Linked DNA regions of Homo sapiens: regions 1, 2, 4, 5, 6 and 7 are each linked to region 3. Evidence: promoter capture Hi-C in human tissues and cell types (Jung and others, 2019). All regions are on one chromosome and are shown on one strand. Each heading gives the region's core, a stretch centred on a gene start or on the middle of the fragment in contact. The rest is flanking DNA. Distances are from core to core; before and after follow the strand shown.

The links. Contacts are between HindIII fragments. The study calls those that stand out against the background at their distance.
Region 1: a fragment that was not itself captured here is called in contact with the fragment with the promoter of BIRC5 in region 3 in 2 of the 25 tissues and cell types used here (dorsolateral prefrontal cortex and lymphoblastoid cells).
Region 2: a fragment that was not itself captured here is called in contact with the fragment with the promoter of BIRC5 in region 3 in 2 of the 25 tissues and cell types used here (dorsolateral prefrontal cortex and spleen).
Region 4: a contact is called between a fragment that was not itself captured here and the fragment with the promoter of BIRC5 in region 3, in 1 of the 25 tissues and cell types used here (dorsolateral prefrontal cortex).
Region 5: a fragment that was not itself captured here is called in contact with the fragment with the promoter of BIRC5 in region 3 in 1 of the 25 tissues and cell types used here (lymphoblastoid cells).
Region 6: a contact is called between a fragment that was not itself captured here and the fragment with the promoter of BIRC5 in region 3, in 2 of the 25 tissues and cell types used here (lymphoblastoid cells and mesenchymal stem cells).
Region 7: a fragment that was not itself captured here is called in contact with the fragment with the promoter of BIRC5 in region 3 in 1 of the 25 tissues and cell types used here (lymphoblastoid cells).

What each region holds. Positions count from the first base shown.
Region 1 is chr17:78,420,006-78,422,705 of GRCh38, reverse strand. All of the region lies in intron 9 of PGS1 (phosphatidylglycerophosphate synthase 1), which reads right to left. Among named protein-coding and RNA genes, the nearest start is that of PGS1, 43 kb to the right of the region's middle. RefSeq lists enhancers at 1-156, 2,430-2,700. The HindIII fragment of the contact is 3,716 bases long and covers 1-2,700 here.
Region 2 is chr17:78,399,980-78,402,679 of GRCh38, reverse strand. PGS1 (phosphatidylglycerophosphate synthase 1) reads right to left here. Exons shown (of 10, transcript NM_024419.5): 6 at 1,825-2,003. LOC124900399 (small nucleolar RNA SNORA30/SNORA37 family) reads right to left here; the gene lies at 2,617-2,700. Among named protein-coding and RNA genes, the nearest start is that of PGS1, 23 kb to the right of the region's middle. RefSeq lists an enhancer at 1,647-2,152. The HindIII fragment of the contact is 6,850 bases long and covers 1-2,700 here.
Region 3 is chr17:78,212,944-78,215,643 of GRCh38, reverse strand. BIRC5 (baculoviral IAP repeat containing 5) reads right to left here and starts at 1,391. Exons shown (of 4, transcript NM_001168.3): 1 at 1,217-1,391; 2 at 855-964. The coding sequence starts at 1,327. RefSeq lists an enhancer at 745-1,646. The HindIII fragment of the contact is 20,243 bases long and covers 1-2,700 here.
Region 4 is chr17:77,962,613-77,965,312 of GRCh38, reverse strand. The region is part of intron 1 of TNRC6C (trinucleotide repeat containing adaptor 6C); the gene reads right to left. Among named protein-coding and RNA genes, the nearest start is that of TNRC6C, 5.3 kb to the right of the region's middle. The HindIII fragment of the contact is 3,556 bases long and covers 1-2,700 here.
Region 5 is chr17:78,052,789-78,055,488 of GRCh38, reverse strand. All of the region lies in intron 5 of TNRC6C (trinucleotide repeat containing adaptor 6C), which reads right to left. Among named protein-coding and RNA genes, the nearest start is that of TMC6, 75 kb to the left of the region's middle. The HindIII fragment of the contact is 3,753 bases long and covers 1-2,700 here.
Region 6 is chr17:78,014,012-78,016,711 of GRCh38, reverse strand. All of the region lies in intron 3 of TNRC6C (trinucleotide repeat containing adaptor 6C), which reads right to left. Among named protein-coding and RNA genes, the nearest start is that of TNRC6C, 57 kb to the right of the region's middle. The HindIII fragment of the contact is 3,984 bases long and covers 1-2,700 here.
Region 7 is chr17:78,032,798-78,035,589 of GRCh38, reverse strand. All of the region lies in intron 4 of TNRC6C (trinucleotide repeat containing adaptor 6C), which reads right to left. Among named protein-coding and RNA genes, the nearest start is that of TNRC6C, 75 kb to the right of the region's middle. The HindIII fragment of the contact is 3,255 bases long and covers 1-2,792 here.

The sequences.
Region 1 (2,700 bases), core at 17-2,516, 210 kb before region 3:
CAACGTGGCAAAACCATCTCTATCAATCAAAAATACAAAAAATTAGCTGGGAATGTTGTATGTGCCTGTGGTCCCAGCTACTCAGGAGGCTGAGGCAGGAGGGTCGCTTGAGCCCATGAGGTCAAGTACGCAGCGAGGCATGATCATGCCACTCACTCCAGCCTGGGTGACAGAGTGAGACCCTGTCTCAAAAGGGGGAAAAAAGGCAAACACACCCATTAGGAATATCGTTCTACGTTCAGCTTGATCATCAAGTTTTGCAAAAACATTTTTCCAAGTTTACTCACCTAAATCATGGGTTAAGAAGCATCTAGAAAGTCCAAATTCTGAGGGTAATGATTCACAACAATCTTAGCGCCCAGTAGGGCTATCGGAGGGAAAAGAAAAATCCTCCCCTCCTGGCGCCCAAGGAATCCAGCCCTTTGTGGCTGCAGAGAAGGGAAGCAGTTTCAGCCTCCCCCAGCCTGGCTGGGCCAATACCTCTGCTGGCCAGGAGGGGTCACTGCAGCCCTTCAGGTGACCAGGGGAGCTAAAGCCACCAGGGGCCACCGGGCAACTCACTTCAGTCCCTGGTAATAACCACAAAATGTGACGTTTTTCCATTTTGCCTTTAGATCCTGAAATAAGAAAGTAATCTAGTCCACACATACATATTGTGGGTAGTTGACAAAATTATCTCTAAACTTTCCAAGAAATGATTCGCACTTAAGCTGCACTCCAGCGACGGGGAACACAGGGACTGGAACACGACAGCCCCGCGCACCTAGAAAGCCGGGAGGACTGCGGCGGCCGCCGCCCGCCGCCCGCTGCTCTCTGTTGCTCCGGCTGCTTTGCAGAGTTAGGGAGGCTTGGTGTGGGGAGCTCCTCAGGGAGAACCTGCCTAGGACAGCCTCGAAGGTCATCAGCAGAGACAGAGGGAGCAGTGTGCGCTGCGGGAACGGCACTGCAGATAGATTGCTTAAGCCTGGCTGTGGCATAATGATATTTACTCTGGTCCCACAGAATCTGGAGGAATGCGAACTCTGTTTACCGAGAGCCTCTCTCCAAACAGAAACCCAGTGCCCCTGCACATTCCTTTGGCTCCTCCAGTCTAATTGTCCCACAGGACACCGTAATAACTAGTTGGAAGGCAAACAGTGTTAACTGATGTGATGTGCTGCTGTCCAGGGCACTGTGGCCAGGCCGCCGCTCCACCTATCCCCAGCCACTCAAACTGCAGGTCTGCCTGGTGCGGAAGCTGCAACTGTCCTTGTCTAAGACCAGGTGAGCCTATGCAACCTTTCAGACCCCATGAAGGGTGACAGTGACTCCTGCCAGCCCTCGGGAGGGAAAGGCGAGAAGCTGCTTCTAGAGAGGCAAAGTGCAGGGACTAAATCTAATCTCACTCCCCGAAAGGACAGGCTGCCATGCCCTGTAGCCCAGGAAGCTTCTCTCTGTGCAAGGGTCAAGCACCTGAAGATGATAAAGAGATCAGGCAGTGAGGTCACAAAAGCAGCTCCTGGAGACACTGGGGGATATGGAGAGCTGGCTTTATAAACACACATGACATGTATTCAAAATCCCCTGCTACTAGGTGACACAAAAATGTTTTAAGTAGATCCAATAAAAATAAAGTTCATTCTTCAAAAAATAAATTGCTAGGGAAAAAACAATCACAAGGTGTAGTCCTTAATTGGACTTCAAGTCAAATAATCGAAAAAATTAATTTTAAGGCAAGTGGAATTGTGAACACCATTTAGGTATTTGATGATACTAAGACATTCTTGGTAATTTTTGTTTCAGGAGTGACACTGGTGCTGTTTTGGTTAAGTACACATTTTGGGGGAAGACAGCAGGATATGCACGTTATTTAGAAATACGGACACGTGTGCACATCAGAAGAAACAAGCCAAGAGTGGCTGCCTGGGGGAAGGGAGGGCAGGAAATGGCCGCAGTATTGTTTTACTCTCTACATTTGCACACACTATTCAAATAAAATGAAAAGTAATTAAAATAACTAGGAAAAGCTGCAGATAAACTACACATTTTTAAACAATGAGACTTAGCAGAGCACTAAGGTGCCAGGCACTAAGGGAGCCCACGCTGCACACATGAGATGCCGGCACTAGCGCATGTGCCGGCCACATGGGTCCTGGCTCATCTTTGACTCCTCACCGTCCCTTCCCCACAAGCCACCATCCAAAGGCCCAGCCATCCAAAGCAACAGAACTACCCACAACATCCAGAACCAGAGAGCAGGGGCCTCGGGAGCCTGACCCCACCCGGAGTGCAGTCCAGGCCCTGAGGGATCCAGGACACAAAAGGTCACTCAGCAAAGACCCCACCTTTAATGGCAGCCACCCCCTGCCCGGACCTCTAGGCGTCAAGACAGTCCAGGGGTACCTCAGGTGACTGTGGGACCCCACTGGTGCCTCTGGTGAAGCGGCAGGCCCCTCCTGGGTGGGCAGAGCAGGTCCTGTTACTCAACTTCCAGAGTCTAGAAGGGCGCAGCTCTGTAACCGCAGCACAGGGATGTCAGCGAGGCGTCCAGGCAGCAGCCCACGGTCTGGCTCTACCGACGCCCCACCCTGTGCACTACAGCCGGCCAGGGCAGCAAGCCAGAGCCACTCTCACGAGCAAACGTGCTCCCCTCCTCCCACGTCTACATCTCCTGCACCAGTGTGCTCAGCTTGGAGGGGCTCAATCTGCCTTTCTGCCCCC
Region 2 (2,700 bases), core at 115-2,614, 190 kb before region 3:
GGCCAGGAGTTTGAGACCAGCCTGACCAACATGGTGAAACCCTGTCTCTACCAAGAGTACAAACATTAGCCAGGTGTGGTGTTGTGTGCCTGTAACCCCAGCTACTCGGGCAGCTGAGGCTGGAGAATCACTTGAACCTCGGAGGCAGAGGTTGCAGTGAGCTGAGATCGTGCCACCACACTCCAGCCTGGGTGACGAGAGCAAAAACTCCATCTCAAAAATATATACATACATATGTGTGTGTGTGTGTGTATATATATATATATATATATATATATATATGAATAGAAATTACTAGAATGAAAATGATACAAAAATGGAGAATATCAACTGTCCAAAGTTGATTGTCTGATAAACGATTGATAAAACAACAAGGCTTTGGCAAGGCTGATCAGGGAAGTGAAACAGGGAAGGAGGGCTGTCCCAGGTCATCCTTGCTGGCTTGCATGGTCTGAGCTGGGGGCAGGAACAGACACTCAGTGCCTTTCAGGGCTGGGCTACAGAACAAAGAGAAGGACCATCCCATGCAGGAGTCTAGCCTGTTGATGCCAACACCCTCCAGGGGAGAAAGGAGTCACACTGCCACATGCTGGACAGGGCTGCCGGAGGGAGGAGCACCGGGGGGCCCTGCGCACACCCTGAGCCTCTCTGTGGACTCATTCTCCCAAGCACAGCTGGGCTCGAGTCTCCCCGCTCCTGCTCGGAGCGTGCTGGCTCTCATCCTGGCCTAAGCATGGCCTGTTTTCTCTCATATCCATGCCTGGCCCGTTACATTAGACCAGGGATCCACACACATTTTCTTTAAGGGTCAGATGGTAAATATTTTAGGCTTTCTGGGCCAAAAGGCAAAGCTGAGGATGCTAGGTAGGCACTCAGCAAGAGAGATACAGAGCTCCACAAGCTCTTTACAGATGAAATTCAAAATACAACAGTAGGAACAGTGCATGGCGGCAGGCAGAGCATCACACCATCACGGTCGGGGTCTGAGGCCCAGGGCTCCCCTGACACAAGGACAGGGCTTCCACCAGACGGCCCACTGAAATGCTTCCATTCTAGGTCCACAAGACGCAGAGAGCTCTTCTCCCAACAAGTTCCAACTTCAGCTCCTCCTCCCCAAGTTCAGACACTGCTGCAAATCCAGCAGCAGCTCTCTAAAGGCCATGGGGGAGCCACAGCCGCAGGAATCACAGGAATGCAAATGCCCCAGAACACTCACGCCAGAACCTGCCTGGTTCCAGTGGGCAGAGCTGAGAGCTCTTCCACTTCATTTTCCAGGCAGGGGGCCACAGAGCTCAAGGGAGCTGGGAGCCACAGGCCCAGGTGATAGGCTTGGGGAAATGGGCCCTAGGCGAACAGCTGCTGGCCTGGTTGCTTCCTGTGATGCAGGGCAGGCTTCTGGGTCACTCGCCCAGGCACACGTGTTCATTGCTGAGTAGCTATTTGTTAACTGCGTCCTGACCTGAGTTTGTCACCCCCCTGCTAGTTCACCTGAGACCTGGGTCACTAGGACACGCTGCTGCATACCCTTGCCTGAGTCCTCCTCACCTGCGTCTTCCCTCCCTGTAGTGCAAACCTGAGTGACTCCGCCTCAAGGAGTAGGAGTCCCAAGCCCAAGCTCCCACCTTTCTGGGCTGGCTCTCTCACCCACAGAGCATGACTGATGGTCAGTGAGTCACATCTGTCTGGCTTCAAGGACAAAAGCAGAATGAAGCCTTGCCACCCAAGTCCCCTATGCCTGTGGCAGAACCACCTAGAGTTGTGCTCTCCCGGGCCCTCACTCCACCCCACCCACAGCCATAGAAGGGTGTCAGCGGCAGCCCCTACCTTTGTAAGGATGCACCATCCCATCCACCACCTGCACCGTGTCGTCCCCCTGCAGCTGCAGGGACACATCCCCCACCGCGTCCACCAGCTCCGTGAAGAAGTCGGCAATCTCCGCACAGTCCTGCAGGAACACGTAGCGGTCCTGGCGGTTGGTGAAGTAGGAGTCACTCAGGTTTGCACTACAGGGAGGGAAGATGCAGGTGAGGAGGACTCAGGCAAGGGTATGCAGCAGCGTGTCCTGGTGACCCAGGTCTCAGGTGAACTAGCAGGGGGGTGACAAACTCAGGTCAAGATGCAGTTAACAAATAGCTACTCAGCAATGAACACGTGCAAAAGACAAAGCCAGAGTTGATCCAAGGTGACACAGCAAAGTGACCCACAGCCTCCTCCTCTCAAGGAGCCGACAGTGTAGCTGAGAAGAGGAGATGCAGACACAGAAAGTCAACTAACCACACAGGGCTTTTTTTTTTTTTGAGACAATCTCATTCTGTCGCCCAGGCTGGAGTGCAGTGGCATGATCTTGGCTCCCTGCAGCCTCCGCCTCCCAGGTTCAAGTGATCCTCCTGCCTCAGCCTCCCGAGTAGCTGGGATTACAGGTGTGTGCCACCACACCCAGCTAATTTTTGTATTTTTAGTAGAGACGGGGCTTCACCATGTTGTCCAGGCTGGTCTTGAACTTCTAACGTCAGGTGATCCCTCTGCCTCAGCCTCCCAAAATGTGGGATTACAGGCGTGAGCCACTGCGCCCGGCCCATGCAGGGCTATTTATCAGCGCCCATGTTTGTTTGTTCTCTCTGTCCCACTAAGTGACAGCTGCCACTGGTACAGTCCCAGAGCAAGGATGCAATCAAGGGCTTTCTCTCAGCACCAGCAACC
Region 3 (2,700 bases), core at 142-2,641:
AAAACAACTGGGGTGATTCTCCAGGGGAAAAAAATTAAAGCTGTGGAAGCAACTGAATCCGACAGAAAAAAAGGTGAGAAAAGAATATGGCATTACAGTGTGGAAAGACAGATACCATCCGAGTACAGAATTTCATTGTCATTAACTAGGCATCTTGAAGAAAAAAATCCAGAACAACACTGAAGTATATGCTTTCTTTCTTTTTTTTTTTTCAATTTTTTATTTTTATGACGGAGTCTCGCTCTGTCGCCGAGGCTGGAGTGCATTGGCACAATCTCGGCTCACTGCAACCTCCGCCTCCCAGGTTCAAGCGATTCTCCTGCCTTAGCCTCCCGAGTAGCTGGGATTACGGGCGTGCGCTACCATGCCCGGCTAATTTTTGTATTTTTAGTAGAGACGGGGTTTCGCCAAGTTGGCCAGGCAGGTCTTGAACTCCTGACCTCAGGTGATCCGCCCGCCTCAGCCTCCGAAAGTGTGAAGTGCACACTTTCAAAGGGTAATTTTTGTGCTGTGTAGGTTATATTTCAATTAAACTGTTTTTTAAAAAATCTCAAAAAAAGCACTTGGACGTTCCTGGGAGTTCACAACAACAGGGTCTGCTGATGTATTCTGTTGAACATGAAAGGCATCAGGCATCTTACGTCCACCCCAAGGCATTTTGGTCAAATGAGATTTAATTAGGTTGTAAGCATCACCAAGGCACCAGCATATAGAGAGGTATCCGTTCACAACAGCTGTTTAAGAAGCAATGAGGGTGGAAAGCAACCCTCCCATACTAAGTGTCTTTGCAACTCAAATCTTTTGACAACTCAGTTCAAAACAAAGCCCATCGAGGCTGGCCAGAGAAGACTTACATGGGGTCGTCATCTGGCTCCCAGCCTTCCAGCTCCTTGAAGCAGAAGAAACACTGGGCCAAGTCTGGCTCGTTCTCAGTGGGGCAGTGGATGAAGCCAGCCTCGGCCATCTGCAAGGGACAGCACAGCTCGTGAGTGGACGTGGCAGCCCGGAACCCCGAGGCCCAGCCACAAAGGCCTCGATGGGGACAAAGCAGGGAGGGGAGGCCGGCCTGGACCCAAGGGGCCCAGCCACAGTGGCCTCGCTGGGGACAGGACGGGGAGGGGAGGGCGGCTTGTACCCCCGAGGCCCAGTCACAGTGGCCTCGCTAGGGACAGGGCAAGGCGGGCGTGGGGGACCCCAGGAGGCCGGGCAGTCTCACCCGCTCCGGGGTGCAGGCGCAGCCCTCCAAGAAGGGCCAGTTCTTGAATGTAGAGATGCGGTGGTCCTTGAGAAAGGGCTGCCAGGCAGGGGGCAACGTCGGGGCACCCATGCCGCCGCCGCCACCTCTGCCAACGGGTCCCGCGATTCAAATCTGGCGGTTAATGGCGCGCCGCGGGGCATGTCGGGAGCGCACGCCCTCTTAGGCGGTCCACCCCCCGCGGCCTTCTGGGAGTAGAGGCGGGGCGGCGCGGGGTGTGCCGGGAGTTGTAGTCCTCCCGCCGCGTGGCTCTGCCCGTGGTCGCGGTGCACCCAGCGACGCCGCGCCAGCTCGTCCCTGCCCACACCTAGCGCCCCCTCGACTGCTTTCAAAGAACGCGTGCAGGCCGGGTGCAGTGGCTCACGCCTGTAATCCCAACACTTTGAGAGGCCTAGGCAGGAGCATCACTTGAGTCCTGGAGTTCAAGACCAGCCTGGCCATCACGGTGAAACCTTGTCTCTACTAAAAATACAAAAATTAGCTGGGCGTGGTGGTGCATGCCTGTAATCCCAACTACTCGGGAGGCTGAGGCAGGAGAATCGCTTGAACCCGGGAGGCAGAGGGTGCAGTGAGCTGAGATTGTGCCATTGCACTCCAGCCTAGGCAACAAGAGCAAAACTCAGTCTAAAAAAAAAAAAAAAGTCAGACAGGAGAGCTTTACAGGGTGCCACCTCTGCAAAAAGCATCTACTCCAGACGGGCATGAAGGACAAATGAACAGGGGAGGGATGGAGTGCAGCAGACATCGCTGTCCCGGCGAGTACATCGTTGACTGCACGACCTGGGTTTCCAGGAGGGCCACCTTCTGGAGTCAGGGGCCAGGGACTGGGCCACTACCGTGATAAGAAGACAAGGGAGCTGGGGAAAGCCCAGTGGAGGGTGGGGGCCTGTGCTCAGGGCAAACTCCTCCTTTCCCTTCGCAAAGCAGGGCGTCCCACCAACAGTAAGTCCTGCAGCCTATTAAAAAAAAAATCAGTGTGTCCTCTGCTTTGGAACAGGGTGTTCTGGAGTCACTTCTGGAGCTGGGCATCACATCCACTCACTTCTCTGGTTCTATGGCCAGAGATAAGAGGCCTGGCCTTATTAGCCCTCCAGCCCCACGCAGGCCTGGTGCCTCCACTGTCTTTTTCATTTTGGGGTTTATTTATTTATTTATTTATTTTTGCAACCTCTCCCCACCCCTCCCACCCCGCCCCCATTCTTTAATACAGTAACTTTTTATTTTGATGTTTATTTATTTATTTGAAACTGAGTCTCGCTCTATCGCCCAGGCTGGAGTGCAGTGGCATGATCTCAGCTCACTGCAACCTCCTCCCCGCCACGGGTTCAAGCGATTCTCCTGCCTCAGCCTCCCGAGTAGCTGAGATTAAAGGCATGCACCACCACACCAGGCTAATTTTTGTATTTTTAGTAGAGATGGGGTTTCACCATGTTTGCCAGGCTGGT
Region 4 (2,700 bases), core at 188-2,687, 250 kb after region 3:
CTGGATAGCAGGACACAGAACAGAGGAAGAGACTCATTAAGCAGCTATTAAAATAATCCAAGCTTTTTCCATATGTGAGGGCTTTGAAGTGTATTGAGTTTAAATTCTGGCTTCATCTCCTATAAGCTATAGGATCTTGTGGAAATTACTCCCTTTGCTCATCTGTAAAATGGGAATGTTAAAAGCAACCACTTCACAGGAGTGTTGTGAGGATTAAATAAGATAAACTCATGTCCTTGGCACATAATCACATTGTAAATGCTCAGATTAGTTTTAAATGGAGATCTGGTTACCTAAGGATGCTTTCTAACCTCGTCCACTCCCACTTCACAATTCCCAATTGTCCTCAGTGACTCAAATGTACTTGTTCCCACAAATCCATCACCTTCTTCCCTTACTGTGCCTCCCTACCAAAAAAGACCTTGTTTAAGACATCAGCCATAGCCCCCTGAAGAACAAAGCCTATTAAATTCCCTCCCTACACTCTGGGCCCCTCACTCTGCACTTCATATTTCATATGGAGTATGAGAAAAAATACTTGTGCATCTCCCTCCTCCCCACTGTAATTTCTGAATAACCGTTGTCCACATCATCTCAACAACAGTTGGAAAGGTGACACCTGTGCCCGCGTTGCCATTTCCCAGTTTCAGATCTTAGTTTAATTCCCAGTTGCTATTTTCACTGAGATTTTCCCTGCTTCCTAAAAGAGTAATTAAAAAGAAATGATCTTTGGGAATAAAAAAGTAAACAATATCTTTGCCAGGCTCAAACCAAGCACTTGATTTTAGCTGTGAGAGATCTTATTCTTAATAAGCTAGAAGGCACACATAAAATGAATCAAACAAAGCACATATTCCCAATAACCACCTGGGCACCAACTTGCATCTGGTATTAGCCACGTCAAAAGACAGTCTGCACATTAGTAAAGGACTCAACCACAGACAAGAGTTATCCAACTGCTGAGAATAATTCAACTTGACACTGTGATACTATAGGTTTGTAGTTCAATCCTTCAGAGAAGGAAGTTATAAAGATACAATAGAGTATTAATTTCTAAAATGGTCTGAAGAAGAAAAACAGAGAGGGTCTTCAGAGTAAACCATTTGGATTTATACAAATAGATGCCAGTCACACTCTTCTTCATTTTTGTGCAAAAAAATTAAAAATTTGTTATGCCAAAAAGGTTCATGAGAAAGTGGAAACTGGGCCAAATTAGACCAATCCATCCCACAAAATATCTGGAAGATTCCAGATGACTCTTTGGGCCATGTGCACTGTGTGTGGCCCAGTGATCATATGGGTCTTAGGGCAGTGGTTCTCCAACAGAAAAGAAGTATTGCAACAAAGAGGCAAATAAAGAGGAAGATGGTGGGACAGACAACTCTTATTTCCTAGACACCCCTTATTTCCTAGAGCAAACATTTAAATCCACTGGCTTACAAGAGGAATATACTTAAGAAGCTATATTATTGCTCATCCTTAATCACTACTATATTTTAGAAAACCAAAGTTCCAATGCATAGCTGGAACTCAGAGAGACACAGAGAATATTAAGAGTTCAAAATAACATTGAGTGTTCCTTTCCCAAGACCATTACTTCTGTTGTGGTTTGCAGCCACAGAGGGCTCAGGAGAGTGCGAACAACTATCTGTGCTACAGCAGTGATGTTTTATGGCTGGATGCCCAGATTGTCTAGCTCTGCACACAGCTCTATAGTCTTTTGAAGGCTACAGAGGAGGAATGCATTCTTAACAAACAGCTCTCCATTCCTGCAATAGCTTCTTCATTCTCTGAAAACATCTAAAGCTAAGAAAAGAATTCATTTTTAGTAAAACTCCAAAAATGGAACAAACGATATGGATTTTCAGCATGTTTTAAACATGTAAAACCTTGTTATATATATCCCAGGTGGAGATTTTTTAAAATTACATAATTTACTTTTCATTAAATAAATTAACATTTCAAATGCACGATCTGTACAATAGGAAACTGTACCATTATTTTAATCGGGTTATTCAAACAAGTTCACTGGCTAAGATTATACATTTCTCAGTTTCAATTTCAGATATACACTTTCTGCACAAGGTTATATAGTTATTTCTGACAAGTAACCTTTACATTTTTAAGTAATTATATTCCTAAAAAGTTATGTATAAGCTGAAAATTTATAAATGGACTCCACTGCATTAAAGTCTATTTAAAGAAAGCTTATTGTATATCATTTTATAAAGAATGCTCTCCTCGTGACCACACAATTATTTAAAAACTCATTTGTATAAATTTGGATAGCCATAGACTGAGTAAAAGCAAGAAAACCTGTACAATCTACCCCCTACAAAATAGGAGCCACTTCTCACCTGATATTTTGCTGTCCCTACTCAAATCTATGACATCTTCAAACAAAATATTAAGATGTTAACTATCTAAAGTAACTAAAATCCAGTCACCTTCACTGGGACCAGTTGTCATGCAAGAGAGACCAAAGACTGTGTCACCAACACTTCAAAATATTTCCTTACTTCTCACCTAAAATATTTGAAGACCCTCTGAGATAGAGCTGGAGAAAAGGTAAAAACCCATGTCTTAAAATTATGAGAAAGAAGCCAAAACAAGTTCAACGGAAGATAACAAAAACAAAACAAACATAAAGTTACCTGGTTCTTCCCAGCTTATATAGACCCTTTCACGCTCAGTCTGTTC
Region 5 (2,700 bases), core at 35-2,534, 160 kb after region 3:
AATGCATTCCCCACGTGTTTGTGGTGATGCTCGTGTAAACAAACCTACTGTGCGGCCAGTCACAGCAAGGTCTAGCACACACAACTGATGATGCTGATACAAGACTATGTTACCAGTTTATGTCTTTACTGTACTTCCTGTTATTGGATCTCCAATGGGACAACGTGTGGAGGTGGACAACAGTGATACTGAAGATCCCGGCCCTGTGTAGGCCTAGGCTAACGTGTGCGTTTGTGTCTTAGTTATCAAAAAAGTTTAAAAGGTACAAAAAAAAAGCTCATAGAATAAGAATATAAAAAATACTTTTGTGAAGCTGTACAATGTGTGTTTTAAGCTAAGTGTTACTGAAGAAAGTATCTTTTAATCTTTTAATAAATGTAGTGTGGCCTAAGCGTACAGTGTTCACCAAGTCTACAGCAGTCTACAGTGGTGCGCAGTACTCTGCAGTGGTGTACAGTGCTGAACTCTACTTTGCAGTGGTGTACAGTAGTCCGCAGTGGTGTATGGTAGCGTACAGTAGTCCGCAGTGGTGTATGGTAGCGTACAGTAGTCCGCAGTGGTGTATGGTAGCATACAGTAGTCCGCAGTGGTGTATGGTAGCGTACAGTAGTCTGCAGTGGTGTATGGTAGTGTACAGTAGTCTGCAGTGGTGTATGGTAGCGTACAGTAGTCTGCAGTGGTGTATAGTAGTGTACAGTAGTCTGCAGTAATGTATAGTAGTGTACAGTAGTCCACAGTAGTCTCCAGTAGTGTACAGTAGTCTGTAGTAGTCTGCAGTGGTGTATAGTAGTCTACAGTAGTCTGCAGTAGTCTCCAGTAGCGTACAGTAGTCTGCAGTGGTGTGCAGTAGTCTGCAGTGGTGTATACTAGTCTACAGTAGTCTGCAGTGGTGTATAGTAGTCTACAGTAGTCTGCAGTGGTGCGCAGTAGTCCACAGTGATGTACAGTGCTCTGCAGTGGTATACAGTGGTGAACTCTACTTTGCAGTGGTGTACAGTAGTCTGCAGTGGCGTGCAGTAGTCTGCAGTAGTATACAGTAGTCTGCAGTGGTTTACAGTAGTCTGCAGTGGTGTATAGTAGTGCACAGTACTCTGCAGTAGTCTCCAGTAGTGTACAGTAGTCTGCAGTGGTGTGCGTAGTCTGCAGTAGTGTGCAGTAGTCTGCAGTGGTGTGCGTAGTCTGCAGTAGTGTGCAGTAGTGTCCCAAGCCTTCACATTCACTCACCACTAACTCACTGACTCACCCACAGCCACTTCCAGTCCTGCAAGCTCCACTCATGGTAAGTGCCCTATACAGGTGCACCATTTTAAATATTTTATACCATATTTTAATGTCCCCTTTTCATGTTTAGATATATAAATACTTACCATCGTCCTACAACTGCCTACAGTATTCAGTACAGTAATATGCTGTGCAGGTTTGTAGCCTAGGAGCAACAGGCTGTACCGTATAGCCTAGGTGAGCAGGAGGCTATGCCATCTAGGTTTATGTAACTATACTTTATAATGTTAACACAATGCTGAAATTGTCTGATGACACATTTCTTAGAATGTATCACCATTGTTAAGCTATGCATGACTGTATTAATTCTGTTCCTGGAGCTTTTTTGTTTGTTTGTTTAAAGAAATGGGGTCTCGTTATGTTGCCCAGGCAGGCTTTGAACTCCTGGGCTCAAGCCATCCTTCCACCTCAGCCTCCCAAGTAGCTGGGATTACAGGTGGGGGCTCTCAGATCACTTTCTGCATACCTTTACTATAATGCTAATTAAACTCTATTAAATTTGATATTACTAGCCTGTCCCACTAGACTATTCCTTACTTAGGAATAATCTTATTTTTCTTTCTTTCTTTTTTTTTTTTTGAGACAGAGTTTCGCTCTGTCGCCCAGGCTGGAGTGCAATGGCCCCATCTCAGCTCACTGCAACCTCCGCCTCCTGGGTTCAAATGATTCTCCTGCCTTCACCTCCTGAGTAGCTGGGATTAGAGACATGCGCCACCATGCCCGGCTAATTTTGTATTTTTAGTAGAGATGGGGTTTCACCTTGTTGGTCAGGCTGGTCTCGAACTCCTGACCTCAGATGATCTGCCCGCCTTGGCCTCCCAAAGTACTGGGATTACAGGCATGAGCCACCACGCCCGACCTAATCTTATTTTTCAAATCCCTTCATTTTCCTTCTTCCTGCTTCTCCTTATCCCCCCAAGTACTTTATAAAATGTAAGGGCCTAGAAATATTAGTCATATATTAGTAAACAATTGGAATCACAAATTCAAGTACTCCAAGGAACCAGTCAGTTAACGTAAACAGGCCCAGCGTAAGAACAGCAGCGCAAGCTTGATGATGCTCAGTGGCTACTGATCAAAAGCCTCAGTGTTGGGAACCGTCAGGGGTCGGGGGGCAACGTGACATGGTATGGAGAAAATGCACAGGCCCTTATGAAGGCAAGTGGCTCTGACTGACTGCTGCCATGTGAATCCAATGTCAGACTTTTCAGGTTTCCAAAGGAAGCCAGAAATCTGGAATTTAATATAAAACATTTGCATTAAAAAAATGCCAATTCACAGAAAAAATGTGGGCCAAAAAGGCACATTTGTGGGACTAGGTGCAGCCCACGGACCACTGATTTTTGACCTCTGGTTTAGTGACACTGATGCGTTAGCTGGAGGCTAAAACTGTCTTGAGGATCCATAAAGGATTCCTGA
Region 6 (2,700 bases), core at 43-2,542, 200 kb after region 3:
ATGTTAAAGGAGGAACCACAGAGAATGACCTAAAGAAGGGAAGGCAGGCAGAGACTGCAGCAATTTAGAAGAGGTAATGACAGCTGTACTCAGGAATGGAGGATTAGATCTTACTCTGGTTCTAAACCACCCCCCTTAATTTGGTTCCCATATCTCCAACAGTTTGGAAAGTGTTAGGCGCTAGATGAATGTTAATGAACAGCCATCCCATTATTTTAAATGTTTACAAAGCAAGTAGTTAAAATGGTCTCTCCCACCCACCACCACAGGCACACCTGGTGCAGGACTGACAAGCCTGGCACACAGCTTATGCAGCCTCCGTGCAAGGAGAGCTGAGGCTAGGGATCTGGTTCCCCCAGTTACATGTGAGTGCATGTGACCTGGCAGGTACTGGCTGTGGGTGCCTGTAAGCACAGTACTGGAGATGGTGGCAGTTTCTGTGCAGGGGCCACATTCCCAATCGCTCCTTTTGTGGCTGAGAGAGACAGTGTTAGTGCCGCTTCCTGACCCCTGGTCTGCGGCAGTGGCACTGTGCTCTAGAAGTCAAGAGAGCCAATAGGGCCTCTCAATTATTCCTGGAGGTAGCAGCTCTTCAGGGAACTCTTTGGGGAGTCATTTCTGAAGGCCCAGCCTAGAGTTTACCCCCTTCAGCCCTTTCAGTGATTTTATACGCACCCAGTCCTCCATATTTTAAACCCATTTCTGCTTATAACAGCTAGAGTAGTTTCTATATTCTTCAGCCGAAATCTGGTTAAGAGCATATAGACTTTTTTAGCAAGGAGTTTTATTTATTTATTATTGAGATGGAGTCTTGCTCTGTTGCCCAGGCTGGAGTGCAATGGCATGATCTCGGCTTACTGCAACCTCCGCTTCCTGGGTTCCAGCAATTCTCCTGCCTTGGCCTCCCGAGTAGCTGGGATCACAGGCGCCCACCACCACGCCCAGCTAATTTTTGTACTTTTAGTAGAGATGCGGTTCTGCCATCTTGGCCAGGCTGGTCTGGAACTCCTGACCTCAGGTGATCCGCCCACCTCGGCCTCCCAAAGTGGCTGGGATTACAGGCTGAGCCACTGTGCCTGGCCCAAGTAGTACATTTAAATCTTCCATCTACCTAGACAACATCACAGTATGTGGTATGAGCTAGGTATACCACTGTTTCCCAGTAATGGCATTTACTGTTAAAAGGATCCTCAATTAGAATCCCGTGGGCTGCCACCATTAGCCTAAAGTATAATAACAAGTAGGTGTGAAATGGATGAGAGCAGTATATTTTAAAACTAACTTTTTATAGGTAAAAATGCTAACTGGGAGGGACATTTTTAACCCACACATTTTAACACATCTTCTTTCTGAAATTTGGATGCCCCTTACAATTGATGTATAAATACAACAAGGTTTCCTCATTCATGCTCCACCTCTGTCAACAGGACGTTATTGAATAGATGATATGTCCTATGACTGATGTCATCTCAGAACTTAAGAAACAAGCTTTTGTAAGATAAAGCATAGAACTTCTCTTATGCATGGACACCCCACACAATGAAAAAAATTGTCAAAAATCAAGCAGTAATTCTAGTCATTTCAGAATAAATATTCAAAGATTCAGAGTTTCTTAACATTTTAAATTTACTCAAATATAAGATTGTTTGCAAATGTGACTATGTAAGAGAACTATTCTCTTGTGCCAACATAATCAGTGATTCCAAGGAATATTTTTGTTATTACAATTTCTTCTGCAGCCTATACAGCAGCAAACATTGTGGCGAGAAGTTGCCTTAGAACAATGAGATGCGAGCAGAAGACAGCTCTGAGTACGGAGGGTCCATCTGCTGTGCTCATCAGCAGTCCTGGAGGGATACAAAGTGGTGCCTTCTGTTTGTTCAGTGGATGCTTCTGGCTGATCTATCACCGTGGCAACATTTGGAGCCCAACTCAAAACAAGCACAGACTCATTAACTACAAACTACATTAACTTAGTGTCTGTTGCTAATGAGAAATGCCGTTCAGAGGTATTTTCTACTCTAGCATATTACAGTTACCTCTCTAAAAGGTACCAAATGCCACTCTCAATACATCACATACTAGATAACATGAATGTTAAAAGAAAGCAAAATTATTTTAATAATGACTACAAACAGTAAGAATCATTTCATTAAAAGGTTACTTTGTTTTGGCCCTTGGATATTCCTGCTGTAAGAAAATGTACTATGTATCATATATGCAAGCACATCTAAGTTCTTTTTAAACAACAGGCTTATTTAGAAGATCAATTTAGAAAATGCCGCTAAGAGCATATGTTAAAGCTGAGTAATCAAGACAGCATTAATGCCTACTGGCTCTCCTGTAATCTTCTCATATGTAACATTGATCATAACTCTCTCCAAGTGAGGCAACACACTGGACAAAACATTAAAGGCAAAGAAAGTCCACTGGGTGTAGAGCTTGTCAGTTCCCTTAACTCCTTCTTGACCACATCTCTTTTCATGCTAAATCATCCTGAACTAAATGAGCTCTCAGAACAAATGGCAAATCCTAAATCTCATGAAACACAGAAGATTTAAGTGGAATTATGTCTCAAATGTGTTCTCCCAGGACTGATAAATTGGGAAATAGCAGTAATCTTAGGTATTTTCTCTCCAAAAGTGCAGAATCCTACAACCCGCCAGAAGAGGGAGCCAAAGTTAAACTACTCCAACATTT
Region 7 (2,792 bases), core at 47-2,546, 180 kb after region 3:
CAAGCGATCCTTCTCCCTCAGCCTGTCAGGTAGCTGGGATTTGTGAACACTCTGCTTCACAATGGTGTTTCAAAGATGGGTACATATTTGTTGTATATTTCAAAGTCTCACCAGTCTCACACTAACAACTATCACCTGCATTACTCAACACCTACTATAAGCAAGACCTTGTGCTGCATATGAAATAAATAGCTCATCTTCAAAATTAGGAATCTCTTCATTTCAAAGATGAGTCAAAAGTACAGGGAGTGAAGGTGATTTGGTCAAGGTCACACAGGAGGTGGTGGGTCTGGAAAGTGGATTGGGCCTGTCTCTTGACCACTTTGCCATACTGCCTCCATGCTTGCTGATGCTCACCTACAATCCCTGTGCCAACACCGTAACAACATGGGACAGTGTTCCTGAAAGTCCTTCCACTGACAAAATCAAACAAAGTCATTGGAATGGTGTCTGAGTCAGAAATTTAAGGGAAAGGACCTTAGAGATCATGAGAGGTTCAAACCTCTCATTTTAGATGAGAAATGGAAGGACTAGTTGGTGGCATAACAAGTTCTAGTTTCCAAGTCCTCACCTATGGTTCAGAGATTTTCCCATTCTGCTTAGTCATAGAAAGCTCAGAGACGTTATTTATTTTTTCCTGTTGCCCAGGCTGGAATGCAGTGACTCGATCTTGGCTCACTGCATCCTCCACCTCCCAGACTCAAGCGATTGTCCCACCTCAGCCTCTTGAGTAGCTGGGACCACAGGCACATGCCACCATGTCTGGCTAATTTTTGTACTTTTTGCAGAAAGGGGGTTTTGCTGTGTCACCCAGGCTGGCCTCGAACTCCTGAGCTCAAGCAATTCACCCGCCCAGGGCTTCAAAGTGCTGGGATTACAGGCATCAGCCACCACGCCCGACCTCAAACATTTTCTTCATAGGATATTTCCAACTTAGTTTAAAGGCAAGACTCTTATGACCTAATCAGCAAAAAATATAGGATATACAGTATACAGTAAGTGCAAAGGTGTTATGTTACAAAGTGGGCATATTACACCTGTGAGAACAGAATGGAGACAGAGCTGCTTGGGGAAGCCTCACGGGTGCGGGGGGACAATGAACTGGAAGTAAAGTGGGGGTTGGGGGGGCAGCAATTAAGCATGTGTGCATGGGAGGGACTTGACAGTGAGCATGGCACACTTGTGAGACAGTAAGAAAGCAATCCCAATCATAATAGAAAGTAGGCCATGGAGGCTGGGGGGTGGTGGCTCACGCCTGGAATCACAGCACTTTGGGAGGCTGAGGCAGGCGGATCACCTGAGGTCAGGAGTTTGAGACCATCCTGACCAACATGGTGAAATGCCTTCTCTACTAAAAATACAAAATTAGTCAGGCATGGTGGTGGTCGCCTGTAATCCCAGCTACTCAGGAGGCTGAGGCAGGCAGGAGAATCACTTGAACCTGGGAGGCAGAGGTTGTGGTGAGCCAAAACTGTGCCATCGCATTTCAGCCTGGGCAACAAGAGAGAAACTCAGTCTCAAAAGAAAAGAAAAAAGTAGGCCATGGAGAGTAGGCGGGGAAAATGTTGGGGAGACTCGGCTATGAAGGGCCTTCACAGCCAGAGAGAAAAACGGAGAGTTTGTGCATTAGTAACTAGGTGACCACGGCAGGTTTGTGAGGGGACCCCTCGTCAGTGAAGGGTGGTGAGTTAGAAAGATGCATCTGGCTGTGATACCAGAGACTACTGAGGAAGAGATGAAATTGGTATAAAATGAAGATTTTTGTTTGGGAGTCAAGAATGAATTTCTTATTTTATGCTCACTACATAGATTGATCAATTTTTTGAGATGTTTTCAATCCATAAAATGATTTATGTTCTTCAATATGTGTGTGTGTTTATATGTATATTTATATATATACTCACACACCTTTTTTTTTTTGAAACGGAGTTTCACTCTTGTCACCCAGGCTGGAGTGCAATGGCGTGATCTCGGCTCGCCGCAACCTCCACGTCCCAGGTTCAAGCGATTCTCCTGCCTCAGCCTCCCGAGTAGCTGGGATTACAGGCATGTGCCAACATGCCCAGCTAATTTTGTATTTTTAGTACAGACTGGGTTTCTCCATGTTGGTCAGGCTGGTCTCGAACTCTCGACCTCAGGTGATCCGCCCACCTTGGCTTCCCAAAGTGCTGGGATTACAGGCGTGAGCCACTGTGCCCAGCCTACAATATATATTTTAGAAGGACTATGAACTAGGAGTATTTTCTTAGATAATGTTATATTTACAGAGATAAATATTTAATGAGGGAATATTATATCATAGCAAGATTTTATTGACTTAATTGCTTATTTTCTACTTATCTAAGAAGATACCAGTAACATTCTGCACCAGCAGCATTTGATGAGAAAACTGATGCAATACTGTCAACCAATCACATCACAACCAGATACAACCAGAACAGGCAGGGCTGTTACATTTCTTATTCAGTTTTTCAAAATAAGACCCTTAAATTAAAACACCAAGCTATTTAGGTCTAACTATAGAATCCTTGTCTCTGTTAAGATTTTCCCAAGGACCATATTGGGAAAGTAGCATGTTTGATTGTAAACTGCTGGCAACTAAATAGATGAGACTATATTCTTGGTCAGTGAATATATTTTATCTTTTCTGCCTTGCTTTTTGGTGACAATCATTGACCTACATCCCCTCTACCAAGTGGTTAGCAGACGAAAGCCAAGACTATTTGAAGAGACTTGGTAAAGTTGTCTAAAAATATTAGTTCTGACTATACTACAAAGTCACAGTTTTGAAA